Regions from separate parts of the Homo sapiens genome. Here regions 1, 3 and 4 are each linked to region 2. The links are contacts of gene promoters, found by promoter capture Hi-C in human tissues and cell types (Jung and others, 2019). All regions are on one chromosome and are shown on one strand. The core of a region is centred on a gene start or on the middle of the fragment in contact, and the rest is flanking DNA. Distances in the headings are between cores, read along the strand shown. Region 1 has its middle 350 kb from the start of LINC00474. Region 2 holds the start of PAPPA (pappalysin 1). Region 3 holds the start of TRIM32 (tripartite motif containing 32). Region 4 overlaps LOC105376235 (a long non-coding RNA gene).

Region 1 (7,610 bases), core at 3,480-5,979, 580 kb after region 2:
GCAAAGACTGAGAAACTTTCACAGATTTTAAAAGACTATGGAGACAGAACTAAATATAATGTGGGATCCCGGAATCTATAACAGAAAAAGAAAGTTAGTAGAAAAGCTGGTGAAATCCAGTAAGCACACCACTTTAGTAAATAGTACTGTACCAAGGTAAGTTTCTTAGTTGTGACATATCTGATAACAATGTAAGCCGATAACACAAGGGGAAGCTGGGTGAAGGGTTTATGAGAACTATATATACTATTTTTGCTACTCCTCTGTAAGTCTAAAATTATCTCAAAATAATGTAAAAATAATTGTTAAAAATAAACTAAATATTTTGCATTCAATTAAAAGGGTCCCCTTACCCTTTGTAGCCCAATTCTGGTCATCAGGTTAAGAAATCGCTAATGCGGCCGGGAGCGGTGGCTCACGCCTGTAATCCCAGCACTTTGGGAGACCGAAGCAGGCGGATCAGGAGGTCAGGAGATTGAGACCATCCTGGCTAACACGGTGAAACCCCGTCTCTACTAAAAATACAGAAAAATTAGCCGGGCGTGGTCGCGGGCGCCTGTAGTCTCAGTTGCTGGGGAGGCTGAGGCAGCATGAACCCGGGAAGCGGAGCTTGCAGTGAGCTGAGATCGCGCCACTGCACTCCAGCCTGGGCGACAGAGAAAGAACTCACTAATGTATGGAAGCAAGGTGTCTGTTGAGGTTGGAGTTTGACTAAATGGGATTGACTTTAGCTTTATTTTTTCTGAAGATTACAGGTTATTGACCACATTGTCAGTCCCGCAGTACATTTCAAGCTTTCATGGGAGGATCATTAGTTGTTGCTGTTTATATTTTGGGTGGACTGGATGATGATGGAGAGATTCATAGCACTGCATTTAACAGAATTGCTTAAGTCAATAGGAAGTAAGATATCTGCTTTTGCTTTTTCTTTCTTTTTTCTTGGTATGAGTTTTTTGTTGTTGTTGTTGTTGTTGTTGTTGTTTGTTTGTTTGTTTAAACACTGGTTTGACTTAAATCCAGACTCGTTCATTTTGAAATGTGGCTTTGGGTAAAGTATCTAAGTTTCTTGTTTCCTCGTTTGGAAAGCTCTTTCAGGACTGTGGGAAGACTTGCAGAAGTACACAGGCACTTGCTTGCTGATGATTATTGACTATAAGAACATAGAGACAGCACATACAGCTTTTGTGACCATGTGAAAATAGCATGACTCTCAAGAGAAATGTATCCAGCAAGTGCTTGTCTTGGTGAGTGGAGACCAAGCTGGATTTTAGCACACATTTATCCACTTACTGGGAGGATCTGCTTGCAGAAATGACTTGTGCAACTGTATAAGTTGCCAATAAAATGAATAACTTGGGCTGACTCTCTGAGCTCAAGGTTAAACTTAAGTTCGAAGACTTGGGCTCAGAAGGACTGTCAGGTTCTACCGTCAGAAGAGCAAGTGTATACAAAAAGGAGACACTTTTTTGACTATGTTGGCTTTGTGTCTCAAAATATATATTAAGGAGTGCTAGTTTAAGATGAGATCATTCTGAAGGGTCAATAAGTGTGCTTCAGAGAGGCTTGGCTCTGGAGCCATAATGTTTAGGTTTGGATTTCAATTCTGCCACCTATCAGCTATGAGTCCTTGAGAAAATGCTTCAACTTCTCTGTGCTTCATCTTTCTCACAATAAAATAGAAATAAAATAATTTAGGCTGGGCACAGTGGCTCACACTTTGTAAACCCAGCACTTTGGGAGGCCAAGGCAGGAGGAAATCTTGAGTCTAAGAGTTCAAAATCAGTTTGGGCCACATAGGGAGACCCCTTCTCTACAAAAATTTTGAAGTTAGCTGGGTCCAGGAGGTTAAGACTGCAGTGAGCAATGATCATGCCACTGCACTCCAGCCTGGGTAACAGAGCAAGACATTGTCTCAAAAATAAATAAATAAATAAATAAATAAATAAATAAATAAATAAATAATCATTTAAGCCATGAGTCGATGTGGTTATTTAATAAACCAATATTTTAAGCATTTAGAACATACCAGGAATAGAGTGAGAAGACAATAAGTGATTTACTATCATATATTAAGAGAACATGCTAATAAAAACTCTGCTTCCAGCCCATCTGTAGGCTGAGAATCCATGAGTCTTGACCACATCATGAATCTGCTGGGGTGATTTTGTATTAGCCATTCAGCCCTCTATGCCATTTTCAAGTGGGAAGAGTCATATGTGAACAACCCATCTCACCAAACAAGGCTGTAAAGAGATTAGTTTTGATAAGATCAAGCAAATAATAATATTGTTTTCGGCTTATGTTATTACATGTAATCATTACTCTGAGATTTTTCTTAATCTTCAGCATTTGGTTCCTAATAAAAGAACTAATCAAAAATGATAAAATAATCATTCATCTGTGACCTAACCTTGAATGTCAATGTCATTTTTACAAATGGGCTCTTTTTCTGTTATGATCTTGCCAGTGTGCACTGGTTGATATTTTTTTGTACAGTTCAACAAAATTTTTAAGCATGGGATAGATGGCGATTATCTTTGCTGGACAGAAAAGAATAAGGATAAATAAGAATAAATAAGTTACAACATAATAGATAGTTGTATTTTGCTTTTACTTATTTTCTTAAAATGTTCTTTTTATCCAAATAGTGGAAAAATACATACACAAATGCACAAACACACATATATAGAGAAAGTGTATTTATTTCAAATAATGTACATACAAAGGAAAGAGGAAAATCATCTTTATATTTTCATTCAAATATAGCCACTCAGTATTTTTCTGTATAGTTCCAATATCTTATTTTCTGGCTTATACGTATGTCTTTTAAAGCAAGCATTCTTTTGTTCACATGGAAGACACTTCCTCAGAGACATCATTAGTTTCCATCCCCAAATTTATTCCCACTGTCTCTTAACTAACAAAATCACAATCTAGTTCCAAGCAGCAAAATGCCCACCAAATTATCTTATTTGCAAGCTTTTATGGCTAGCCCTGGCCATGAGACTATCACACATAGTGATACCCCAGCTGTGTATCACATGGACAGAAAGAAAAGGGAGGTTGACTTCTCAAAGTACTTTTGGAGTACTGTCCCAGAAGAAGAGGAAATGAATGATGGAAAGAAAGATTCCCTGGCCTGATATGACCTGTAACTTTCCACATACCCAGAGTCCAGCTGCAGGATGTATGGTATTCTCAAAAATACTTTTTTCTAATTGATTGATTTTTTTTTTTTTTGAGATGGAGCCTCGTTCTGTTGCCCAGGCTGGAGTGCAGTGGCACAATCCTGACTCCCTGCAACCTGCAACCTCTGCCTCCCGGGTTCAAGCGATTCTCCTGCCTCAACCTCCCAAGTAGCTGGGACTACAGGTGCATGCCACCACACCTGGCTAATTTTTGTATTTTTAGTAGAGATGGGGTTTCACCATGTTGGCCAGGATGCTCTTGATCTCCTGACCTCATGATCAGCCTGCCTCGGCCTCCCAAAGTGCTGGGATTACAGGTGTGAGCCACCATGCCTGGCCCTCAATTGATTCCAATCAATAAAAAGTAGGAGACATACAGATATGAATGACATTTAGATAATATATGCAACTGCAACTTCCTCTTTCTACCAGCTGACAGGTGTCAAGGCTCATGCCCTTAAATATTCAGGTAGACAGAAACTTTCAAGTAATAGAACAGTGGTATCTAAATGCAGATGCAATTATAGTCCTTGGGAAAAACATTTTTGTGATTGCGGGACAGAACAATAAAACTCTGCTTGATGAAGAAAATGTGGCATTTACATTCATGCAGTATTATTAGTCTCAATAAAAGAAGGAAATCTTACCATTTGCAACAATATGGATGAATCTAGAGGACATTATGCTAAGTGAAATAGGACAGTCATCAAAGGAAAAATACTGCATGATTATACTTATGTGAAATACCTAAGATGGTTAAATTCATAGAAGTAGGGAATAGAATGGTTGTTGCCAGTGGGTGGAGAGAGGAAGAAATGGGGAATTGTAACTTAACGGGTATAAATTTTCAATTACGCAAGATAAATAATTTCTAGAGACCTGCTATATATCATAGAACCTAGAGTTAGCAGTAAGGTATTGTGCACTTTAGGTGGAGAGGATAAATCCGATGTTGAGTGTTCTTATCGCAAACATACAAACACACACACACACATACATACATACACACAAAGGACACAAGGACATTTCCAGAGGTGATGGACAGGGTTAGTAGCTTTATTGTGGTGATGGTATCATGGTGTAGAGATGTTTCCAAACTCATCAAAATGTAGACTAAATATGTAGATTTTTATATCCATTATATCTCAATAGAGCTGTAAAAAAAAGAAAAAAAAAAGCCTGCTTAAACCTAGACTTGGAAAGAAAAGAGAAGTAGACAAGCCAGGGCTGCCTGGAGTTCTAGTTCTTGAATATTTTTCCCCCTTTGGTACTAATTTTAATTATAACCAAAATGCAAACAATTACATAAAACATAGCGCAAGGCTCAATTAATTTTTACTAAGTGAACAAATACTTGTAATGTTAAACCAGATGAAAAACCAAGCACCCTCCCTGTCATCCCCCCTAGTCATTACCTTCCTCCCTCCAAGAATAACCACTATCCTCACTTTTAATACCATACATTAGTTTTGACCATTTTTGAAATGTTATATTCTTTATAAGCCTGGCCTCTTTTGCTAAACACCATGTTTGTGAGATCTGTGTATGTCATTACTGTATATACTCATTATATGCATATGGATTCATTCATTCCTCTACTCATGAACTTATAGATTGTTTCCAGTATGTTGCTATTAGAAGTAGTGCTTCTGTGAATCTTGTTGTACTAATCTTTGGGCTAAAATACCTACCCAGGTTTTGGATCACAGGTTATGCACATATTGAGGTTTGTTAGATAATATTGAAGTAGATGCCAATTTACACTTCCACTACCAGTGCATATGGTTCTCAGTCAGAGGAAGTGAGGAAAATCTTGCTGCTTCCAGGGGAATTTGGCAATATCTGGAAGCATTTTTTGTTGTCATTACTTGGGCAGGGGGAGGGGGCAGGGGCTGCTGTTGCATCTAGTGAGTAGAGGTCAAAGATGCTACTAAACATCCTATAATGCACAGGACAGCTCCGCACAATAATTATGTAACCAAAAATTTCAAGAGTACTAAAGTTAAGAAACCCTGTCCCACACCAACTTTGGTAAGTTCTGATCTTTTCTTTTTGCCAACGTCTTGGTTGTGTAGAGGTATCTTATTGTGGTTTTATTTGCATTTCTCTGATAGTGAATTTGTGTACTTTTCATATGTATATTTTGTTCTTTCATGAAGTATTTTTTTTTCCGTTGTTGTATTACCTTTGTATTGATTCGTAGAAGTCTCTTATAAAGTCTGTTCATAAGTCTATGGTTGGATGTTTGTAAATATATTATACTAGCATGTAGTTGATCTTATCACTCATTTAATACTGTCTTTTAACAAACAAAATGCTTAATTTTAATAACATTAAAATTATTAATCCAAATTTAAGTCCAATTGATTAATGATTTTTTTGTGTGAATAAGGCATTTATTTCAAATAATTTTTCCAAAATGGAACTAGAGTTCTGGTAGTATATCCATCAAACATTCTAATATGAGATTAACACAGGTAGTATAAAAAACAAATTTTAGGTGAAAATGAGCAATTATAAATTTTCTGAGTGCTCTTAAGAAAAATGTTTTAATGTTTATCTCATATATTTGTTGTAAGACTTCAATGACAAAACATTGGTAAAGTGTTCAGCAGCTGATTTAACACAGAAAATGAATCTGCTAAATTAATTCCCTTTCCTTCCACAATTATGGCCAAAATTAGTTCTTATCTAAGAGCAGTGATTTTAATAAATTGGAGCTTCTCTTTTATTCATCCAAGAAATATTTTTTTGAGATTAGACATTTTTCCAGTCTTGCAAATAAAAAATGAGTGAGATTCATTCCCTTTCCTTAGCACATGTAAAGTGGGAAAAATTAGGCATGGAAGCGTGGAAAACTGCTGTTTACTGAATTCTGTGGCAGGCATTGCAAAGGGCACTTAATATTACTCAGATCTGATTCTTTCTAATTATTGATAGGGAAGGATATTTGTTATTGTGTTACTTGTTTTATTTCTGTTTGTAGCTCTCTTGTCTCTCTTTTCCTCTCTTGATGTCTTCTCTTCTGGTTCATTTTTTAAAGTGATACCTTTCGAATTCTTTCTCATTTTCTTTTATGAATCTTCTATAAGCGTTTTCTTTATGATTACTGCTGAGTATAAAACATGTTATACTTAAAACAATCTATTTTAAGATGATAACTTCAATCACATACAAACATTCTACACTTTTCCTTCTCTACACACACTTTATATTATTAATGTCACAAATTATATGTTTTGTATTTTATTTTATTTATGTTGAGACAGTATCTCACTCTGTTCCCCAGGCTGAGTGCAATAGTGCAATCACGCCTCACTGCAGCCTCTATCTCCCAGGTTCAAGTAGTCCTCCCATCTCAGCTTCCAGAGTAGCCGGGACCACAAGTGTTCACCACTATGCCCTGCTAATTTTTTTTATTTGTACAGACAAGGTTTCACTATGTTTCCCAGTTTGGTCTCAAACTCCTGGGCTCAAGCAATCTTCCTGCCTTGGCCTACAAAAGTGCTGGGATTCCAGAAATGAGCCACCACACCCGTAAAAAATTATGTTTTTATACTGGATATCCATTAACATATTTTAGACGGTTATACTTATACTTTAGTCTTTTAAATTCATCAGAATTAAAAGTGATTTATACCCCACCATTATAGTATTAGAATATTCTGTATTCACTTATATATTAAGCTTCAGTAGCAAAGTTTATGCTTTCATGGGCTTTCATATGTTTAGTGTGCTTTCATTTCAGGTTAAAGTACTTTATTTAGCATTTCTTGTATTTGTTTTTCTGTCAACACTGTCAGTATATCATCCAACTACCTACTGGTCTGCAAGGTTTCTGCTGAGAAATACAGTAATATTCTGATGGAATTTCTCTCCATGTGACAACTCACTTTCTACTTACTGCTTTTAAAATTATTTTTCATCTGGGTTCAGTGGTTCATGCCTATAATCCCAGCACTTTTGGAGGCCAAGGCGGACGGATTACCTAGGCTCAGGAGTTCAAGACCAGTCTGGGAAATATGGTGAGACTCCTGTCTCTACCAAAAATACAAAAATTAGCCAGGCATGGTGGTGTGCACCTGTAGTCCTAGCTACTCAGGAGTCTGAGGCAGGAGAATCGCTTGAGCTCAGGAGGCAGAGGTTGCAGTGATCTGAGATCACCCCACTACATTCCAGCCTGGGTGACAGAGTAAGACTCTGTCTCCAAAAAAAAAAGGAATAAAGTTTTTTTTTTGACTTTTGATAATTTAATTATAATGCATCTTGGTTTTGTCATCTTTAGATTTATCTTATTTGGGAAGCTTTGGCTTTCAGAATTTGGATGTCAGTTTCCTTCATATTTGAATTTTCAGCCATGATTTCTTATAACTGTTTGTTCCTCTTTCTTTCTCTTCTCTTTCTGTGTCTCTGATCATGCAT
Region 2 (7,473 bases), core at 2,372-4,871:
TTTTTTTATGTATTAGTATATATATTTTTCTCCTTTCCTTTCAGAAAAATAAAAGGCATGTTTTCTGAGCTTCAGAAGCAAACTGCTCCTTCGCTCCTTCCCCCTGTCTCTCCGAGCGCCTGTCTGAACTGGTGTCAGTGAAGTTTGAACCGGGGCAGAAATAGCATCCCGGGCGGATCTGGGAGCATAGCCCGCCTACCAGGAGCGGCAAGGCCTGCCTCTGCCAGACGACAGACCCGGTTAACAGCACCGTAAAATTAGACCTTTACGAAACCCAATTGAATCCTGCAGCAAAGAGTGATGTAAGGCAGCCTGGCCTGACAGCAAGACAGCAACTCTCTGCCTGAAATAGCAGCGCGGTCCCTGCTGAGCGATGACTGCTCTCTCAAGATAGGTGACCAGGGATTCCTAGGAAAGTGGCAACGCCCAGCCAGAGAAAGCCAGCAGAGGTCAGGCAGCAAACTGGGCACCTGAGGTCGCCGCGAGAGGGTGAGCCTTCGCACCCGATCCTTGCTGCCCACCTCGGTCCTGGCTCTCCCAGCCCAAACTTACACGAAGGAGGGAGCTGAAAAAGTACTTCTGCAAAGAACCTCTGTTTGTTTGCTTTTTAATTCAAGGAGAAGCAGGTTCTTTTTAGTCCAACAGCCTGTACCATGTGGAGGATATGCAGAATGAGTCTTTTCTGGCTCAGAGCCAGGTGTTTACACGCCGCCAAATCTGGCTCCAACTCAACTAGGGGAGGGAAAAGAAATCCACCAGAATCCTCAGGGGAAAAGCTCCTGGCTTTCTGGTGCTACACGACAGCAGTGCTTATTTATTTATTTTATTTTTTTCGTTTTGAGAGGAATGTTATTTCTACACATAAAATGGACCAGGCATTTTATACAAGCAATAATAACCTAACGCCCCCCATCCAATTAAAGTATTTTACTGCAACAATCTTTGTGTGAGAGAGTGAATGAGTGCTCAAGAGAATGTGTGTGAAGAGAGGCTCCTTGTCTGAATTATAGACATTTATAAAGCAGTCTCCTGTGGAATCCCAGGTGTTATATATATATATATACATATATATATATACACATATATATATACACACATATATATACATGTATATATATATATACACACACACACACGTATTTATGTAGACACACTTACATAGTTAAAATGCATTCACTACCCTTTCACTGATGATGCCTGCATAACCCTGTGCTCTCCTCTCTCCAGGGAATGCCTTCCAAATCACTGGTACTAGGTAAAGACTAGGAAAAACCAGACCTACAGATTAAAAAAAAAAAAAAATCACCTCCAAGCAGCAGTCTCTTTGCTTTTTCACATGTTTGGAAAGAGAAGTCAACATACTACAGCTCTAAATTATCACCATCGTCATTATTATTATGGATAACGTTTCCTCTGTTCCAAATTAGACCCTCCTCTGGGCAAATAGGGCTTGCGAGTTAAAAGTGAATGAGTTCAGTCTCCTTCTTCTTCCCGGAGGAAAAAAAAAAAGGAAAAATAGCATGCGATGACGTCAGTTGTGGGTTGTTGGGGGGAATCACTGTATCGCTCTCCTTTGATAGCTGGAAAGCGGGGGCTTCGGGAGACGTATTCTTGGGATAGCAGCAGAGTGTGGGTCTCCTAAAGGGGTCTTCATGTCAACTGGATAGTCAGTGCTACATCTGTGAAAGTCCAAGCCATGGAAAGACAGGAAGAAGCAGAACTGCCCGGAGAGCTCACAGCTTTCCCTTCTAAGAAAGTGTGTGTGTGAGGGGGTGGGATCGCAAAACGCCTTCACACGTTTCCTGGCTGCAGTGAAGGGGGAACCCCTACTCTCACTTTAAGACGTCCCAGGACATGGCAAGATTGTTTGTGCAGAAAGGGAATCTCCCAGACAGAAAAGGCAAAACTTTCCTCCTCTCTTCCAGCGCCGCCCCCACCTCCGCTCCCCAGTTTTATTAAAGGCATTTCCACAGATTCATTTAGAGGGGGGAAAATGGATGCTGGAGCATTTCTAAGGTTTGCAATCCTCGCAAAGTGTCCGATTTCACTATAGGCTTTGCTGTGGAACAGCGAAGGGGAGAGAGAGGGAGGTTGAGGAGGGAGAACTCAAATTCATTACGGGCTCATAAAGTCCCATATGAGAAAAGCGCCCCGTTTCGCAGCCGCGTCTGGGGAACGCTGGCGGGGTATGCGTTAGGAAGGTCTCGTCCCAGCCCCGAGTGACAGGCAATGGGCTTTAAAAGCTAGGACATGGGATGGCGTGGAGGGGGTGAGGGTGAGTCCCAGAGGCAGGCTTCAATCAGTGAGCAACTTTGGGGCACTTCGAGGACTTCTAAGTCCTGGCCATTACAACAACCTTGCCCTTGCCGGCTTTCAGGGGAATGGGGCCTAATGAAGGGGAGTTACCTCCATTAAAACGTCAAAGAAATCAACGGTCCCCAAGTCTCCTTTCACATGCATCTCAATTGGGTCATCCTCCCTTTCATCCCAAAAGGAGAGAGTGCATCTGACCATTCGGAGCACGGGTTACGTGCCCTAGGCTCCGGGAACCAGCCCTCACTGGCCGAGGGTCCGCGGGGCCGCCAGGAGGGCTCCCCAGGTTCCTCCCAGGGATGGAGCAGCTACGCCTTCCGAGTGTGCCCATTCCACCGATGGAGCAAAGTGAGGCTCTCAGCTCGCCCGGATGTCTCTGCGCCGCTCGCGGGGCAGCTCTCGCACAGACACGCCCGCAAGCCCCCGACCCGCCCGCCACCCGCGCCCAGACACCCGCGAGCCTCTGGGGCCGCAGGGACGGTGCAGCGCCCGCCGAGGCGCCCTCACCTACCTGTGATCACTGCCGGAGACCTCTGGCCCCCCTCCGCTCGCAGCCACACTTGCAGCGTGAACGCGTCCCGGGGCAGCTCGAGGTCGGCCCGGAGGCGCAGCTGCTCGCCTCGCCCGCTGAAATAGAGCGCCCGGCTCGGCGGGCTCGGCTCCTCGGTGGCGCCCCTCGCCTCCCGCTGCTGCCGCCGCCGGGGGACGCGCACGGCTTCCCAGGCACCGCCCGGCGGCGGCGGCGGCGGCGGCGAGGCGCGGCGGCCGCGGGCCGCCCGGGTGGCGCAGGTGGCCGGGCCGGCGGCGGGGCGCGGGGGTCGGCCGGCCCGCGGGTCTCTCCGGGCCCGGCGGGGACGCTCGGCCAGCCCGCAGCCCAGCGCGGCGCTCAGCAGCCCCAGGTGCAGCACCCAACTCCAGAGCCGCATGTCCGACGGTTCCCCCCGCCCCCCCTTCGCCCCTGCACCGCCACCCGGAGCTGCCAGCTTTGGGAGCCTCGGCGCCTCGACTTTCTTCGCTTCTTCACCCTTCTTGGGCGAGCCCCCCTTTCCACTTGCTTTTTTCTTTTCTTTCTCGCTTTCCTCCTCAAGGTGTGTGCTCCACTCTCCCCACCTTTGAAAAATACAGCCCAACTCCTCCTGGTTGGCAATTAATTTCTCTCCCCGCTCCTTTATCTGCCTTATTTTTCCCCTAACAGCTGGTTGCCTTCCTCCTTGTTTTATTTCATTTTATTTTATATGATTTCTCGCTCCAAAAAAAAGCTCCTCTTAAGACTGATCCGCTGAATTCCCTCCCCCCAAAAGATGCTCTAATTTATTTATTTTTTGCGTCCTTTATAACACAAGCCACAGCCCCCTTCTCCCCCCCCAAGTCCCCCCTCCCCTCCCTCCTTCTTCTCAAAATGAAAGGAAAGAGGGGGAAAAAATCCCTCAGAAGATGAGTAAACAAGCGTATGCTAATCTGCTCCCCAGCGCTCCACCTTCCCAATTGAATGAGTCCCTGTTAAAACTGCGGGGATCATGACTAATCAATCAGTTTGGAGAGGCCGAGCTATCCAGCTTTCCTTCACTTTGCCTTTTGCCTCCTTTCCTTCGCTCCCGCTTCTCCACCACCCCCTCCTTTTCTCTCTCTCTCTCTCTCTCTTTTTTTTTTTTTTTTTTTAAGGAGACAATCTTAAAGTAACAATTTAATGAAATTCTGTACACACCCCCTTACGGTCCTCCCAGCTCTCATTCCTGCTCAAAACACACATTCCTGTTTTTGTTTTGTTTTGCTTGCTTTTTTTCCCTCCCTCACTCCCCCCACTTATTATTATTATTTCTGATGGCAGGAGAAAAATCTGTCTCTTCTCTTAGGATCCCCTTTGCACTTTGCTGGTAAACCTCATCCTTTTCTGTAGCACATAAAGAGTCTTGAAACTTGATTCTTAGATTTTTTTTTTTAATTCTCTCTCTCTGTCTCTCCCTCCCTCCCTCTCCCTCTCTTTCTCTTTTTCTCACTCTCTCCCTTACTCTTCTTCCCGCTTCCTCTCCCTTTACCTCTTTCCCTCTTCTTTTCCCTGTCCTTTTCCCTCTCAGAATTTCCTTAAAGTTGTACGATGATGAACCATTCCCCTCTTTTCTGAGCCCCCAGATAAGGCTGGCTTCAGCTAACCCAAATGTTTCCAAAGTTCTTATGGAATCATCAGAAGAAAATAGAAGAAAGGCACTGTCCAGGACATCTGCCTTTCAGAAGCTGTAGTCCTAGTACAACTGGGTCTCTGAATTTCCCCGAATACTCTTTAAAATACTCTGTTGGTCATTAGAAATTATTTTAATTTTATAAGAAGAAAATGAGAGAAAAATATTAATTTGCCTAATGTTTTCAACTTAAGCAATTCAGGTCCTCTGAAATTGTTAAAGTCACAGGTAAGGATCTGACCATTTGCTGCTTTGTAGGTCTGTTTTTGAACTGGGACATACATGTAATATATTTTTTTCTTCTTTTTTCCCCCTCTTTATAGAACTCAAAAGCTCCCCCTTATGGCAAAACAGATCTTCTTTTATTTTGTCCAAGTGTTTAATAAGTCAAAACATGTTAGCAATGGTGGATTACAAGCTATTAATTACCAATCTATTCCAATAAGGTAGTGATAAAAATATTCTGTGTGAAGTTTGCATGTGAATAGCGTGCTGAAAGTCTGCGATAAAATTAACTCCACTAAATTGTAACTTTCTTCTTCAATTGCTCTTATCTTCCGAGCTGCTCCAGATCTTTCTTGAGAGCTAGGAACATTGCTACACGCTTCAGGAAGAGAGAAAACCAAGGAAGAATGTTTGTTGGCAAAAGTATGACGATTTGTCGGATGAGCAAATGACTCAGACATCCCCTCTATGAAAGCTGGAATGCGATATATGCAAAGATTATGGAAGCTTTCTGAAAATGGGAGATCTCAGATTCATACCTTCCTAGTTTAGAAAGAAGTTGCTGAATAGTCTTAGACTAAGAACGTTTGAACTCTGTTTCTGTAGTCATAAAATGAAAATAGCACAATACCCTAAATGTGTTTCCAGAGACTGGCTGGAGGAAAGAAAATCTTGGGTGCACAATGTCATGAATAAAGAATTTGCCTAAGCAAATCTTTGACTTTTTGCAACTCCAAGTCATCTGTAAAAGGTTGCCATTGGATAAAAAGAGAGCTATGTTGAACAACATAAATTGTATCATTCAAAATCCCCCTTCCTCTCCAATAGAGGTTGGACCATGACTACTGATTTACTTCAGTTGTGGCAATTAGGCATTTAGAAACTGCATGTCTTCCAGGGGGATTTTAAGTCATTGTATACAATAATTTTGAATATTCCTAGACAACTGGGAATTATTCAATTCTCAGACCAGCAGTGGGAGCACAAGATTTTTACTTCTCATTTCCTACTCCCTCCAACACATATCAGTTCACTGGCCTTGAGTAAGACACTTCATTTCTCTTCCCTTCCACTTCCTTACCTTTAAAATGGGAATATCTACTTGGCAAATTTATTTTGAGGACAAGATATGCTCTGGGGTATAATCTTTTGTAAACAATAAAAATGATATACGAATACCATTTGTTCTATTGTTGTTGTCAAAGACAAAGTGCTCCTCAGGTTCTTAAAGACAAACAAGAATTGAGGAGGCCAAGTTATTTCTCTCCTGTAGGAGGCAGGAAAACGAAGGGACAACGAAGTTCATGTCTTATGGGTCCTTGAACTCCTTGATCTCCGTCCTCAAATGCACTGGGATCATTTGGCAAGACATTTCACTCATCCATTCATTGAACATACATTTACTATTTGTTTCCATCTGTCTTGGAAGCCATTCTAACTCTTTATGCATATATGTATGTATGTATTTGCTTGTTTTTAATTGAGTGCATAAAATTAGATGAAATTTAATTCTTGGTTCATGACCCACCCTAACCCTTGATCTATGACTGACATTCATATATATATGTATATATAAAAGACCTTCATATATATATATATATATATATATATATATATATACACACACACATATATATATATATATATAAAATGTATCATGTACTGCTATCCCTTTTTTACTACAATACTTGATCTTTTATGGATGTGTTCCCTCTCTTTTAATCATTTTTAGTAGAAGAGCAATCGTTTCAATGTCAGGTGACTCAGGATCTTATTCTGCTTTGTGTAGGATCTTTAGATCTCATTCTGTTCTAATGTAAAATGAAAAAACTGGAATCAAATATTCTTAAGATCACTTCCAGATTTGAAATATAATGTAGCCTCTAATTATCGGAGTAAGGCAACAATTCCCATCTAGTCATCCAATATTCAGTTAGTTTCCTTCCTTCCAGCCCTCCTCCCCAGGGACTCCCTTAAGTTCCTGAGGATTTTTTCCTAAAAGGTACTTTGACTCTGTTTCTTCGCTCTTATGATATACTCCTTCAGTGTTCATTTTGTTTGGTAATTACTAAAAGCGTTTTTCCAGAAAGGACATAAGATTCTACTGGAAGTTAGAAAAGTAACATCAAAGTAGAGCCCTAAAGATTGAGACTGATTTGAATGTGGGTGAGGGTGGTTAAAAGTACATCTCAGAGTCACCCTGACCTGGGTTCCTATGACTCTCAGCAAGTTGCTTAATTTCTCTGAGTCTCTGTGACCTTACCATGGAGTTGTCATGAGGATTAGATTAGTGTGTTGCATGACATAGTAGGTGCTCAATATATAAGTACCCTCTTTTCATTTCCACAGATCTAATTTTTAATGGCCCTTTGAGCTTTTTTTCTCAGCTTTTCTCTGGAGCCAGAGCCCTATGTACTTCTTATGTCAAGCCAGATGGATAATTCTCGTCTTAGAATTCCTAAAGCAAGCATCGTCTGTCTCACAGAATCTGGAACTCACTGAGATAGGATCTCCCATTGTTCTTAGTGTAGTGTCCTGCTTATATCTTTCCTCCAAGATTAGAATCCTTGAAGGGTGAAGACCTTTAAAGGCAAGAATCTTCAAGGGCCAGTTCTGTCACCTGCTCAGAGAATCTTCAACTGACTGCACCCCTCCCCGAGCAGCCTGAAGGGCTCCCTCCTCTGGGCCCTTGTAGAACTGCTTCTGAATTTCTATCGGCACACCCTCAAAGCAAACTCTCAGGCAAATTATATATTGG
Region 3 (7,489 bases), core at 2,970-5,469, 530 kb before region 2:
TAAACATAGCTAAACTATGTCAAGGGCAGGCTAAATGAATAATAGGGTTTCCTGGAAAACATGCTTGCCTGTTGTCTCTGTCTTCCTCTAAAACTGCAGGACCTAGAAAGACTCCCTTGCATCTTTCACAAACATTTGAGTAGTACCTACGCTGCCAGTATGACTCAAGGAATATAAGACAAAGGAAAAATCAATAGCCCCTTCTCAGGGACCTCCAACTAACCTCAACCCTCTCTCTCTTTCAATTCCTTTCTCTGCATATAACATCTGTTCATTTAATCATGAGATTATGATTAAAGGATCAAGGAGATCCTAGGAAATATACAAAATGGGATGAGAATTTTGGGGAGACTAGCAGAGACTACTTAGGGTTATCAAAATCTGGCAAAGAGCCTGAGCAACAGAGTGAAACACCATCTCTACAATAAATTTAAAAGATAATCAGGTGTGGTGGCATGCACTTGTGGTCCCAGCTACTTGGGAGGCTGAGATGGGAGGATCACTTGAGCCTAGGAGGTTGAGGCTGCAGTGAACTGTGATTGCACCACTGCACTCCAGCCTGGGTGACACAGCAAGACCCTGTATAAATAAATAAATATGACAAAGCAACACTTAGTTCTCTTCCAGCACTGCCTTCCTCTCATAATTGCTAACACTCTTAAAGCAACTACTATTTATTGTCAGGCATTTTTTTATATGTTCTCATAGTCTCATAATAACCATGTAAAGTAAGTGTGATTCCTCTTCAAAAATAAGGAAACCAATGCTCAGAGAAAGTAGCCTGTCCAAGGTCTCAAAACCAATAAGTAATAGAGCAAGGATTCAAATCCCAGTATCAACTCCCAGCCATAAAATTACTAACTTAAAGGATGTTTCATAGTTCCCTAGCTTTAGACAAAGTCTGGCTGAGAGGTTGGTAAGGGCACCTAGAAATGATTTTTAAATTTGATTGTTTTACCAGAAAGACAAGATGGAGGGAATGTCACAAAGGTTACACATCAGTGTGCATAGACAATGATCTACTTTAAGGGCCTTATAAACTTCTGGCTTCCAACTATTCTCCAGACATAAACATAGGGGCTCTGAAGGGTTGGAAAAGGCTTCTAATAAAACTACTATAATGTAACATAGGTGTAAGACAGAACTGGGTTTGTATCCCAACCTAGCTACTTGCTCTGTAGCCCTGGGTAAGTCATTTAACCTGTTATTTTTCTTATCTGTAAACAAGGAATAAAACCTAGACTGTTAGCAGGATTGAATTCACTAAGATAATGCACATAATAAGCACTCAACAAATTATAATCATTTGCATTTTTAATAGATTGAGGCTGACAGGACAAGTGCCGTAGCTACTGACAAGGTAACATAGGAAATTAGAGTAAGGAGTTTAGACAGGGCTGATTTAATTCCCATGACATATTTTCTTTTAGGGATGTGCACAGATATTCCAGCTAAGTCTTGCTGTCAGACACAGTCTAGCTTTGTTTCTGAACTGGCTTCAGCAACCCTGTAGCTAGTCCTGGAAATGATAGAGCCAAATTCTGTTCCAGGGAAAAGCAGACCAAAAGAGACCATACAGAACAGTAGTTACTCTCCTTCAGAGTATGACTGCCTTCAGCCTCAGTCCCTGCTATGAGGTGTTTTTTCAAGCCAATGGCCTCCATACCTCACCCTATAGTCCGTTGCACCTCATCCTGCCTGATAACCTCAGGCTCCTCTCCTTATCTAGCCCCAGGTCTTGGTCTAAGGGCAAACCAAGAACAAAGTCCAGGGCTCCTCCCTACCTAATCAGAGAGATTTACCCCCCAACTTTAGAGTTCAATCTGATAGTCAGTGATACTCACTGGCAATCCTCTTTTTCATTAGAGGGGAATGGGCTGAGAAAATAAGACTAAGCAGGCCCTAGCAAGGAAGAAGCAAGGAAAGCGGGAATATACGGAGTTACAGAGATCTGGGTATGAGCTTAACTGTGTCATTCCTAGCTATGGAAACTTAGGCAAGTCACTTCCTAAGCCTTAGTTTCCTCATGTGTAAAACTGAATACAGTAGAGCCTACTTAGAAGGACTGTCATGAAAACTGAGTAAAGAAGTAGATACAAGACTAAAAATTACTAGATTTTGAGAACTTACTATGTGCCAGATCCTAGGCATGCTAGTTTACTTCACTAAATCCTCACAACAATTCTGTGACATTGGTCTTGTTATCATAACCCCATTTTACAGATGAAGAGCCAAGGCACTGGGTGGTTAAGTAACTCATTCAAGGCCACAAAGTCAGGAAGAGATAGAGCTAGGACTTAAAGTCAGGAAGAGATAGAGCTAGGACTTGAACCCAGGGTATCTGACTCTAGGTCAGAGTGCCTCAACTTTGGCATTACTGACATTTTAGGCAGGATAATTCCTTACTGCGGGGGGGAAGGGCGTATCCCACACATTGTCAAATGTTTAACATAAAACATTATGTTTAATGTTTAATCTACCCACTTGAGGCCAGTAGTATCCCCCACCCTGTGACAACCAAAAAACATCTCCAGACATTGCCTAATGTCTCCTAGGAGACAAAGCCAGACTTGGTTAAGAACCACTGCTTTACAGTCTAGCACAGGACTAAATGCTCAATACCTAAGGGTTCCCTTTTTTTTTTCTGGTGGTTGTTGTTGTTGTTTTGTCTGTCTCCGAGCCCAAACACCTCACTCACAGAGCCACTGCCCCTTCAAGCTGTAATGGATCTTATATAGGATAAATTATTCCACTCATTCCCCTGGAGGTCTCACTTTCTATCTGCTATCGTAGCTTGGGGGTACAGGGAAAAAGGGCTTAGGCAGATGACCTTGAATAGTTCCACTTCTTCTTCCCCAAAGCCTACCACTTTCAGTGGGCCGGGGGACCGGTGGTCAGAATGGAGTTAGTGGCAATACCATACCTGCCTCATGATAACGGATCTTTGTTTAATAAATGAAGAAGATTCTGCCCTTCACAGGGATTACCACACTCCTTCAGGATTATCTGAACTGAAGATTTATCACTTTGTTCCTCAGCACCTGAACTCTGCTCATCTTCATATACTCATCCAGTTTCATACATTACTTTTAGGTCCTTGGGTCCCCTGAACTCCCTCTGTCTCCCATGCAGCGATTTAAGGAAAATCTCTTTAGCAGCCCAAGACACCAATCCACAAATCTACTCAGGGTCCTTTGATTTTATAGCCCAGTTAGGACATCTCCACCCCACGATTCAATCCTCTCCAAACCCTGTCCCCAACCCTCTTACAATTCCAAATTCCAATCTTTGGGGCTGTATATTGCAACCCTCGTCAATTCCTCACTCATATGCCCCAAATCCCTCGGACTCAGATCGTTTAATCCCTATTTCCAAATCTCTGCCACACTCAGCCCCGCACCTCAGTTCAACGCCCCAATTCCTCACCCCAGATTTCTGCTCTCCCTCAATCTGAGCCCCCATCTCCTGCATTCCATCGGGCACTGTGCTGCCCTCATACCCTGCTCCTTCCTCTTATGCACTGAATGTCATGTGCTGCCTTCACACCTCAGCCAGCTCCCTTCTTTCTGCTAACAAGATAGAGTCCCTCAAGAACTCACCCCACCCCCTCAATCTCACCCTCAGCCCACTCCGAAAACCCTTTCTCAATAGCACTTAGGATCGCCCTAGACCTTGCTCCTATCATCTCAGACCCTGTCCTTGCCAGATGCCTAGCGCCCCCAGATTTCCTCAAATCTCATCGGGGCCCCCCAGTTCCTTCATATTTCTGAAATTCTGCACCCAGGTCCCTCCAGGGCCCTGATTCCCTCCCATCTCCCACATGCTACACCCCGTTCCTCCTCAGGGCCCCGACATTACCTCATACCTCCCGAGATGCTGCAACCGCAAATCTCTTCAGAGCCCCTCGCTCCCCTCCCCCAGCTGCATCTCCTCGGATCTCCTCAGCCCCACGAATCCCTCCCGAGCCTGCCCCTCGCAGCCCCACCCCCACCCTAGTCCTGCCCCCCCCAGATCCGGTCCCCACACCCTGCCATTCGGGCGCGGCCGCTGCACGCCGGCACGTTCCCCCGCCTGGCCGCTGAGCCACGGCCCACGACTCCGGCCGCGGTCCCCAGTCCCCAACCCTCCTTCCCGCCCCCTACCTGACCGCCCGCGGCTCCGACGAGTCCACCGCCGGCAGCCCACCCGCCTGCCTCCCTCTGCGCACGCGCCGTTGAGCACCCCTTGCCGGGCGCCAATTCGCAGAGCTCCCTGTCCGTCACTGAGCCCCGCCTCCCCAGCATGCTGGGGCTTGTCGTGCAGCTGGCCCCAAGCGCGCGGGGCAAGGCGGCCCTGCAGGGGTGAGCTTTCCTCTGAGAACCCGGGGCCTTAGCGACACGTAATCCAGTTTTCCGTCTCCTTGGTGCAGATGAAGAAACCGACGCCCATGGGCGAAAGGGACCTGCTCAAGTTCACTCAGTAAGTCAGGAGATAAGCCAGAATGCGTATCTGACTCCAGTCTCAATGTCTACCCCTTCACAAAACGGTAGCCTCCAGGGTAGTCCTCAGCAAAGCGTTGGCACCTTACTGAATCTGTTTTTCCATCTGAGAAATGGGCCAACGGAAAAATCAAACTTCCATTCTGGGGAAGTCGAGAACCGGGACTCCCTAGGAAGGGCAGTGCTTTGGCCTCATGTTCTGTGCTCTGACAGAGAGCTGCACTAGAGACAAGTTTATCCATGAACACATTGCTCTGTAAAGGAATGTTTTGCCTACTCAGCTGGGAGGCCGACAGCAGAGGCAGACTTGGGGAGTACACTCTGCAGCCCCTGTCCCTGCAGACTGAAGGTACCCGGGAACCCAAACCAAGTGTAGTTTTGCTCGGGTGAAGGTGGAGGAATCTTACCAGGTGGGAGGTGATCTGGCCTGAGATTTGAGGGAATCTGGGGCACTAGGCATCTGGCAAGGACGAGGTCTGATACAGGACTGGCTGGCCACGACCTGCAGTCCCTGAAGTAGTTTGGGGCCAATCACCTACTCTCCAAGGTGACTATACTGTACAGCTTAGGAGCACAAAGGAGTTTGAAGTAGGATGGACTTGGATTTGAAATTCCCCTTAGCTATGTGACCCTGCACAATGATAAAACAATAAACAAAAACAATGACTAACATCTTTGAACACTTGCTGTCTGGCTACAGCTGAGGACTTCAGGTGCATAGCTCACTAAATCCTCATAAGGACCTAATGAGATAAGGCAGCTGATGGTTAACCTACACCTGTTGTGTAACCTAGGTGGTTACACAAGGCCACATATACCTAAGTGTTGGAGCCCAAATTTGTACCCAATTCTATCTGAGAACCCACTCTCTTAACCTTGTTTACTCTTTCTCCCCATTTTCTAAATTTCTAATTGAAGTTTGCCATGAAGATAAGCCAAGATTATGGTAGTTTGCACTTAATGATAACTATATTTGAAAAATTGTAATTAGCAGGTAGGGGATAAGGGAGAGGTAATGCCAAATGATTTCTCACTTAGACCAGTTGGGGAGACTTTGCACCCGTTTAAAATTTTTTTTTTTCCTGAAAACCACAGTTATCAGCCCAAAGTATAAATTTAGGACTGTTCATAGTCTTACATATATACATATTATATATGTGTGTATATGTATCAATACAGACATACTGATGTTTCCCTAATTACAGAGGAGTGTTAAAAATACTCCTGGGGATCTAGCTCAAGCAAGTGTCTTGAAAAAAAAAAATCTCTCTTCTCCCTTAAAACAAAAATCAGTGTTTGACTCTTCTTTAATGTTTATTACCAGTTAAATGAATTATTATACCTCTCACAAAATCTTAGAGTAGAATAAGCATTCTAGGAAATGCACTCAATTTTTATCTTATAGCTTGACATATCCTGGCACAATATTAGAATTCCTCTTACACAGAGGCATTTAAAAAATAATCTTTGTGGAGTGCTTTAAACACTCTTTATTCAGCATTTTAATGTAACAGATTTTTATTTAACACTTAAATCACCTATATCAGTGGAACCACCTGAGGAGTTTACCTTGCCCACTGCCTAGACAGAGCTGATTCATCAAGACAGGGGAATTGCAATAGTTAAAGAGTAATTCACGCAGAGTCAGCTGTGCGGGAGACTGGAGTTTTATGATTACTCAAGTCATCTCCCTGAGCATTTGGGGAACAGAGATTTTAAGGATAACTTGGTGGGTTGGGGGAAGCCAGTGAGCCAGGAGCGCTGTTGGTCAGGGATGAAATCATAGGGAGTCGAAGCTGTCTCCTTGCAGTGAGTCAGTTCCTGAGTGGGGGGGCCACAAGATCAGATGAGTGAGTTTATTGATCTGGGTGGTGCCAGCTGATCCATCAAGTGCAGGGTCTGCAAAATATCTCAAGCACTGATCTCAGAAGCATTTTAGGGAGGCTCAGCATCTTGTAACCTCCAGCTGCATGACTCCTAAACCGCAATTTCTAATCTTGTGGCTAATGTTAGTCCTACAAAGGCAATCTAGTACCCAGGCAAGGAGGTCTGCTTTGGGATAGGGTTGTTACTGTCTTTGTTTAAACTATGAACTACAGACTAAATTTCTCCCAAAGTTAGTTCAGCCTATGCCCAGGAATGAACAAGGACAGCTTGGAAGTTAGAAGCAAGATGGAGTCAGTTAAGTTAGATCTCTTTTACTGTCTCAATCATAATTTTGCAAAGGCAGTTTCAGTCCATCACTTTGGGTTTTGTAACACCTTAATCTTAAAGTGTAGGGTATGAAGATGGGAAAAGGCTGTCGATTGCTCTGGGTTCTTCTTGCTGACAGGGGACGTAGTGGGAATGGGAGTCAACCCCAAGGTGAGAAGAGTGGGACCACTTTCAAGTGTCTGAGCGACTCATGCAGGTCTGGCTGGGCTTCTAAGGCTTGCATGGCAAAAACATTAGTACTCTCATCTATAGTTTTAGTACAGTATTTAGGTGAACAGCCTACTATAAGGTAAATAATGAGTCCTAGGATGAGGAGTACAATACTCAATTTTAAAAGCAAAGATTTGAAAGCATTAGTCTGGCGACTTCCAACCCACAAATAATTTAGGATTTAGTCAAAATTGTAGAAAAAACTCAAGGACAGCTAACAACAGCTAACAATAGGTTTCCTCTTGAAGCATAATTTCTCTCTCTCCAGACCCCATTTTTATTAAAAACAAATCATGATAGAACTGATTTGTTTACAGAAATGTACTTTAGTCTTACTATACTTGGCCTGATTATTTGCATAAAGTGCAGCAAGAATAATTATTTTTCACTTAGGGTCTTTTTTGTTTAAATTAGCTTTGATGGAACTCTGTTCCATGAGGAATCTCAGATAAGAGTTTTTAAAAGCCAAGCTCAGCCATGGGTTTGTATCCTCAAATACCTATGAGTTGGGTAAATTCCTCTCTTCTCAAGGTCCCAAAATAACTTGGGGTTCCTGGGCCTGTTAGAAAGTGACATTCTTTACTTAC
Region 4 (7,583 bases), core at 774-3,273, 540 kb after region 2:
CCTCTACTATCTATGTAATGCTGGTCAGCTGACTTCTCTAAGCTCTTGTAATCCTCATGGGGTTAGCAGGAGGGGGCCATGCTCTATCACATAATGAACAGGAGGCAACATACATGATAAAGTATCCTTGGCTTCTTCTTTTCCAAGGCTGTATACAATATCACATAATGTAGGCAGTGGTTAGTTGATCACAGGGCTGCGTGTCTGACATTCCCACTGGGACTGGGTACTTTCCTCCACATGTATTTATTACTCATCTCTATGTCTTGCTTTAACTATTACCTCTGCCTGGAAGGTCCTTCATCCAAACACAGACCTTCAATTCTTTCACCTGAGGCACCAATGCCACTGGGAATCATTTCTCCTCTGTAATCCAAAAGCATCCTCTACCTATCCCAGTCATGACAGTCACCACTTACCATATCAGTTTATCATTATCTCTTTATCTCCCTGGCATAGAGGAAATGCTTAGTTAATGCTTGTTTACTTAAATAAATAACTCATGTCAGGAATAGATCACATTCTTCATAATCATAAAAATAGCAAACTTGAGTAGCCCTCCAGCACTTACAAAGAATATATATATATAGAATGGGGTTAATACTACAGCTTTGAGTTGCTATATAGCAATTCTTAAAGCTGTAGCATTAACCCCATTCAATAGATGCAGATACTGGGGTTCTCAGTTACAGAATGGGAACACAAACATAGATGTGTCTGGTTCTAAGTGTAGAGACCTTCCTCAAGGGCTGCCCAGGAGCAATACTCAAGTGCAAATGATTGTAGCAAATGGCCAGCATGGTGGTTGATGCCTGTAATTCCAGCAATTTGGGAGCCTGAGGTGTGTGAATTGCTTGAGCCCAGGAATTTGAAAGCAATCTGGCCAAACGAAATCCTGTCTCTATTTAAAAAAAAAAAAAAAAGTTATGGCCGGGTGCAGTGGTTCACGCCTGTAATCCCAGTGCTTTGGGAGGCCGAGGTGGGTGGATCACGAGGTCAGGAGATGGAGACCATTTTGGCTAACATGGTGAAACCCCATCTCTACTAAACATACAAAAAATTAGCCGGGCGTGGTGGCGGGCACCTGTAGTCCCAGCTACTCGGGAGGCTGAGGCAGGAGAATGGCGTGAACCCTGGAGGCAGAGCTTGCAGTGAGCTGAGATCACACCATTGCACTCCAGCCTGGGCTACAGAGCGAGACTCTGTCTCAAAAAAAAAAAAAAAAAAAAAAATTACAAAAATTAGTGGGGCATGGTGGCACACACCTGTAGTCCCAGATACTCAGGAGACTGACGGGGGAGGATGGCTTGAGCCTGGAAGGTTGATGCTACAGGGAGCAGTAATCGAGCCACTGCACACCACCTGGACAACAGAGTCAGACCCTGCCTCAAAGAAAAATATATATATAGATTTATTGAAGTCTACTATGCACTAGGCACTAAGCAAGGTGTTGGGGGACAAAAATGAGTAGGATTTAGGTCTGTATTCGTACAAAGCTCATGATTGAGTGAATACAAGTAGAATTCATTCCCATATTCTACTCTCCTTTCCTAAAGATCTACAATGTTCCTGGTGTCAGGATGCCCATTATGGAAGCTTACACTGTTGTGGGAGAATTAAGTCTTGGCATAACCCAAGGTGCGTCATATGAATTCTACATTTGTATAGTAGTTGAATTTTATATAATGAACATATATTTATTTGTAATCAGAGAAAACGAGAGCAAAAAAAGAATAAGATAGGAAATAGTGATTATCTTAATCTGTTTTTACATGTTTCTTTCCATTAATTTATCATCTTTAATCTACAAGCCAAAAGAGCTGTAAAAATAAAGTGACATAGGATTTCAAAAGAGGGAGAATGTACATCTATCTAGAGAATCAGTAAAATCCTTATTTTATTTGGGATTTATGATGGTAACTTTGAAAAGTCCTTGGCAGAGAAATTCTGAAGATGTTCTCTGGAAAGCCATAGTTCCAAGAGATATGAGCAGGTGTTTCCAGAGCAGAAAACAAAAGAGGGGAGGAGAGGAGCTAGAAGTGAAATGAAAGTAAACATGTTTTTTGTTTGTGTTTTCTCTTCTGTGTGTTTGTTTTGCTTTTCTGCAGAACATCTCAAAATCTTCAAAAAGCACATGTTTCTTGAGATAACAAATGAAACTTGGGAAGGGGAGACATATAGGGTTTCTCAAATGTGTTATTCCAAAATCAAGCAAATCAATAAAAAAATTGAGACTAGTGTTCCCAAGAAAACATAGTGATAAATGATGCCTTTCTGGGCTCTTAATAGCTCTTTAGCTTGATCTATGGGACACTGAAGTTGCTCGGATGAGGTAGAGCAAGAATGAGAGAAAATGGGGCTATCTGGAAGGTACTTTGGCAATACAGCAGTTAAGCAAAATCAGGTTAACTCCACCTGAAAATTGCCTACTTTTGGGACAGTCACCCACCACCCCTACTTAATATGAAAAAGAAAACAGTTTCATCTTGTTTGCAGCCAAGAAAACTTCCTCAGAGTGTTGATACATGAACTGGGATTTGAGAACCATCTTCTCAATTCCCAACAGGCTTCAACAATGGAAATACTGTGGCAATGTCTTCATTGACACCAGACTACTTTGAGGAACTACAGACCCCCCTCAGTTTTGAACCACAGAGAGCCATTTACTGGACTGAAATTGTCAGGGGTTTGGAATCAGTTTCTCCATCCAGCAAATGGGGATAATAATGTGTCTTGTAGGGTAGATATTGGGATTAGGTGGGTTGATTCATAAAAAGAATCTAATAATGCTAGACATATTGTAGGCACTCGGTAACAAAGGACATTATTAGCTGGAACTTCCTCAAGAAGTTGAGACTCCTTACCATTTTGCAAGATGGAGCACCATCTTCTGACCCAACAGAGCAATAAAATTTGAAGGACCCTGCTGAGAATGAAGGTCTAGCATTCATCTTCAGTAATTAATACATGCCCTAGGGGATGCTTGTGATTGGAAATGGGAGGGCAGAAGACTGTTTTTTACTTTTTGATTGAGTGCTTTTTTTATCTCAAGCTATTCTGAATGTCATGGAGAGTTAATGAAGACATGTTGTACACCCACTGCAAACACAATAAAAGAGAAAATGCAACCAATTCTACCACTGTCTGAGTAGATTAAATCCTCAGTTATACTAGAAGTTCAGGGAAGAAAATGAGAGCTGTGTTAGGAGATGGATGGGGATAACACTGGTTACAAAGTCAGAAAAAAACGAGGAAGGATCCTCTTCCATCTTTTCAAATTTCTCCACTTTTCCTTCCTTCTTCAACTCCTCCCTCCCTCAACAGCTAAGGACAGAGAGTGGGCACAAAGTGTCTGCATTGACTTTAGCATCAGATAATAAAATCAGCATAATTTAGTCTTAATACTGTGTCCAGAGTTATGATCTCTATGTTTTTCTTACCACCATTTAGTGAAATTGCAGAAAATCATCTAAAAAAGAAAAAAAAGCAGTAACATTCCATCAGTAGCTTTTGCTTCTCAAAGACTGGCTTCAAATAACAGATGTGACGTTCTTCAGGTTAGCCGCCACTCACAACACTTGAGATATCCAACTGGGAACAATCTCCCTGAGTTGGAATAAATGAGATGATCTAATACCTGAAGATTCCCCAACTCCAGCCCGTTTCTTACATATACAATACATCTGAGAAATGGCTGAATGCATTCTCCCCCAAAGATTGGGTAGGGCACTTCTTCTTTAATGAGACAGCAATTTAGAGGTACCCCAAGGGGGTAGCTGAGGAGGTTAAGAAAGTCTGCAAACTTGTTTGAAATCTCTAGGGTGAATTTTCCTGCATAAATCTTAGCAATTATGACTCTATTTTCCTTAAAGAAAGAAGCAATGAAAAAAAAGTAAAACAAACCCCAGAGCGATTCCTACAGTGTGTCTATAAAGTGAACTTTTCTTCTGAGAAACAATGGTTTCTATTTTTAGGGAATTTTTAGTTTCCCTTTGCTCTTCTAGAAGGGATCTGGTATATTTCAGACTAGAGTAGATTAAGTCGTTAAAAGTGATAGCTCTGCTTCATACTCAAAGCAGTCCCCAAACAGAGCACTACAGGTACATCAGACAGTGAAATTCTCCCCAGAAGAGGAAAGGGTTCATGGTTACAATCTACTTTTTTTGTGCACAGATTCAGGTGTCGGACAAAATGGAGTTCAAATCCTAGATCTTCCCATATGCAACTTCCTTAACCTCTGAGTCTCAGTTTCCTCTTTTGTCAAATGTCCATAATGATAATAATAATAATAAATAGACTTTTCCTGTTGTGGATATTCTGTTGCATAATATTATTTTAAAGGGGATTATAATCATTTGTTGCATTCATGTTGACATACAATATTCAATGTCTTAATACTCTAATTCTACCTGCCAACAAATGCATAGGATATCACCTTCCTGTCAGTTTTTTCTGCAGACATTATTGAAATGAACTCTCTCTTATCCTGAGATGGGTTTGAATACCCAATGAGAAGCAGATCCCATGAAATTAACTCACAAATTTAAGATCTCAAAATCAGTAAGCTGTGGAGGAAGGATCAAATCCAGTTCTATCTAAATCTAAACTCTTTTTCTTATCTACTTCATGGTGCTGCCGTGAGCTGGGACTGTACACGTTGATTGATTGATTGATTGATTCATTCATTCATTCATTCTTTTATCCAATCATTCAACAAGTATTAAGCAATGTTTTGTTTTGCTTTGCTTTGTAGGGGACATTTAAAATGTGAAGGCACTTTACAAAAGTAAAGTTCTATGTGAATATAAGCTGTTATAATGAAGGGCTAAAGCCTGTCTGTTGTCCCTGGTATTTTGAGTGGGAAACATAAGCAAAATTCATATCCCGTGATCTCTCATCCTATGACAAAACAAAATAAAACAAACTCTAAACTACAACCCACCCACTGCTAATATAATCTATATTTTACCTCCAGATTTATTGAGGTATACTTGACAAAATCTTACATATATTTATTGTGTACAATGTGATAATTTGATACACGTAAATAATGTGAAATGATTACCATAATCAAATTAATTAATATGTGGCATATCTATCACCTCATATAGGTTTTTTATTTTTATTTTTGGTGTGATGGGGTTTCTTAAGATCTCTCTCAGCAAATTTCAAGTATACAATACAGTATTGTTAACTATAGTCACCATGTGTGCCTTAGACCCCCAGAACGTACTCATAACTGAAAGTTTGTCCCCTTTGACCAACATCACCTCGTTTCCTCCACCCTCAGCCCCTGGCAACCACCATTCTACACTCTGCTTCTGAGTCTGATTTTAATAGTCATTATTGAAAATAGTATAGAAATTCTTCAAAAACTTACTTTAAAATAGGACTCCTATACAATTCAGAAATATCACTACTGAATGTATATCCAAAGGAAATAAAATCAGGGTGTTGAAAAGATATCCACACTCCCATATTTACTACAGCATTGTTCACAATAGCCAAGATATGGAATTAGCCTAATGAGCCTAAGTGTCCATTGATGGATGAATATATATATGTGTGTATAAAACATTATTCAGCCTTAAAAAAGAAATCAGCATACTATTATGTGCAACAACATGGATGAGCCTGGATGTTAGGTGAATAAACCAAATGCAGAGGGACAAACACTATATGATAAGAGAATTAATCTTAAAACCATTGGCTCTTCAACAGATCAAGAATGTAGCCTCTTGGGCTAATTGTATCACAGAAAATGAGGCAACAAAGGCAATTGTCAGGAAAGCCAAATAAACCTCTTCACATGTCCCAAAAATTTCCTCCAGTCACCAGACTGGCACAGAATCTTACTTGGTAAAATCACATCTCCCAGCCATCTAGGGTAGGTTGATGGAAAAGCAGTGCTTACATGCAGCCTCTAGAGAGAGAATGGAGGAAATAAGAGAGAGTTTAAAAAGTACTCTTTTACCTGTGCCAGGTAATCAAGGTCAACATCAACAGTGATAAGCCATATTGATCATATGTACCCATAATATGTCGTGAGAATGGACTCTTACTTCCCTGAAACACACAGCTCTAGTCTAATTGTGAGAAAAGCATCATAAAATCCAAATTTAGGCATGTTCTACCTGACCAGTACTCATCAAAACTGTCAAGGTTATCAAAAACTTAGGAAAGTCTGATAAATGGTTGGGGCCAAGAGGAGCCTGAGAAGACATGATTAAAGGTAATATGGTAATTTTTCTGGTATTCTAGAACAGAAAAGTAACACTAGATAAAAATTAAGGTAATCTGAATAAAGAACAAGCTTTAGATAATAATAATATAACAATATTGGTTCATTAATTGCAACAAATGTGCCACACTTTGTGTAAGATTTAATTACAAAGGAAACAGTATGTGGTATACAGGAATTCTCTGTATTATCTTTCCAATTTTTCTGTAAATCTAAAATGGTTCTAAAAAAAAGTTTACTTTTTTTTAAGGCACTGTTGTCATTCAATGGAAAAATGGAAGCCAAAAAAGAAGATTTGATTTAAGAATAACCAACCCTCTCATTATCCCGTTGTGCACTGTTATGCCTTGTCTCTGGAAACCAATATAATTTACTTCATTTTGATTTGTGTTCTGTCTTATTCAGAAAGTGCTTCAGGTGACTTACAAGAAGATATAAAAATTAAAACTCGAGAAGCTATTACAGGGCGGGACTTGGGTGGGGAACAATTTGCCCTAGGGTGGGTATACAAGCTTTAGAATTAGGTGGACTTGTGTGTATGCTTTGCTTCTTGGTAAAGTTACTTAACCTATTTGTAGCTCTATTTCCTCATCTGTAATGTGTATTTAATAAGTATTCAAGATGCCATATGCAATGTTATATCTTAACAGGTAAGTAATTAACATGTGCACCATATTTGTATACATTGGGCATAGTGGCATTTCGGTGGTCTGATATCTCAGGGATGTTCCAGAACCCCACCAAAGGATCCAAATTGGAGAATATGTTGGTTTAACCAAAAAAAGTGTCGGAAATACTTGGAGCCCCACCAAAATGTCTTCATAAAAGAACACATCTTTCTACACACAAGAACTTCTTAAACTTTAATGTAAATTCCTTCATTTTATAGATCACAAAACTGAGGCCAAGAGGGAGGAAGCGATTTGCCCAAGATCACACAGGGAATTGGGAGCAGAATTAGATCTTAAATGCAAGCATCTCAACTGCTACTTAGTCTTTTCTTTTATATATATCAAGTTACATATTTTTTCTTCCAAATATACTTCCTGTATACTTTGTAAAACGAAGTAAGGATAAGAGATGTGCAGTTTTCATATTTCAATGTTAGGGATTAAAGATTTCTTCAAGCATCTGATTGCTGATTGGCTAAGAAACACACGCCAGTATTTGTGGATATGTAAGAATAAAAAAAGATTTCTTATGGTATATACTTTCAATGAATTTGAAGTAATAAAGAAGCATTTGTTTCCTAGGTTTGTTTTGTTATTGTTTTATCCTAGCCACAATTAACATGATAGTTAAGAGAATAAACTCTGGAGCCAGACAGATAAGGATTAAATCC

Evidence for each region. Contacts are between HindIII fragments. The study calls those that stand out against the background at their distance.
Region 1: a fragment that was not itself captured here is called in contact with the fragment with the promoter of PAPPA in region 2 in 1 of the 25 tissues and cell types used here (lymphoblastoid cells).
Region 3: a contact is called between the fragment with the promoter of TRIM32 here and the fragment with the promoter of PAPPA in region 2, in 1 of the 25 tissues and cell types used here (hippocampus).
Region 4: a fragment that was not itself captured here is called in contact with the fragment with the promoter of PAPPA in region 2 in 1 of the 25 tissues and cell types used here (mesendoderm cells).

The regions. Positions count from the first base shown.
Region 1 is chr9:115,569,680-115,577,289 of GRCh38, reverse strand. No RefSeq gene overlaps it. Among named protein-coding and RNA genes, the nearest start is that of LINC00474, 350 kb to the left of the region's middle. The HindIII fragment of the contact is 5,684 bases long and covers 1,888-7,571 here.
Region 2 is chr9:116,149,939-116,157,411 of GRCh38, reverse strand. It overlaps PAPPA (pappalysin 1), which reads right to left and starts at 3,621. Exons shown (of 22, transcript NM_002581.5): 1 at 2,825-3,621. The coding sequence starts at 3,239. RefSeq lists enhancers at 1-392, 393-894 and a silencer at 1,755-1,844. The HindIII fragment of the contact is 11,414 bases long and covers 1-6,984 here.
Region 3 is chr9:116,684,035-116,691,523 of GRCh38, reverse strand. TRIM32 (tripartite motif containing 32) reads right to left here and starts at 4,219. Exons shown (of 2, transcript NM_012210.4): 1 at 4,143-4,219. The region is part of intron 16 of ASTN2 (astrotactin 2); the gene reads left to right. RefSeq lists enhancers at 3,743-3,792, 4,233-4,552 and a silencer at 3,963-4,162. The HindIII fragment of the contact is 20,788 bases long and covers 1-7,489 here.
Region 4 is chr9:115,607,732-115,615,314 of GRCh38, reverse strand. The region is part of intron 2 of LOC105376235 (a long non-coding RNA gene); the gene reads right to left. Among named protein-coding and RNA genes, the nearest start is that of LINC00474, 310 kb to the left of the region's middle. The HindIII fragment of the contact is 3,865 bases long and covers 91-3,955 here.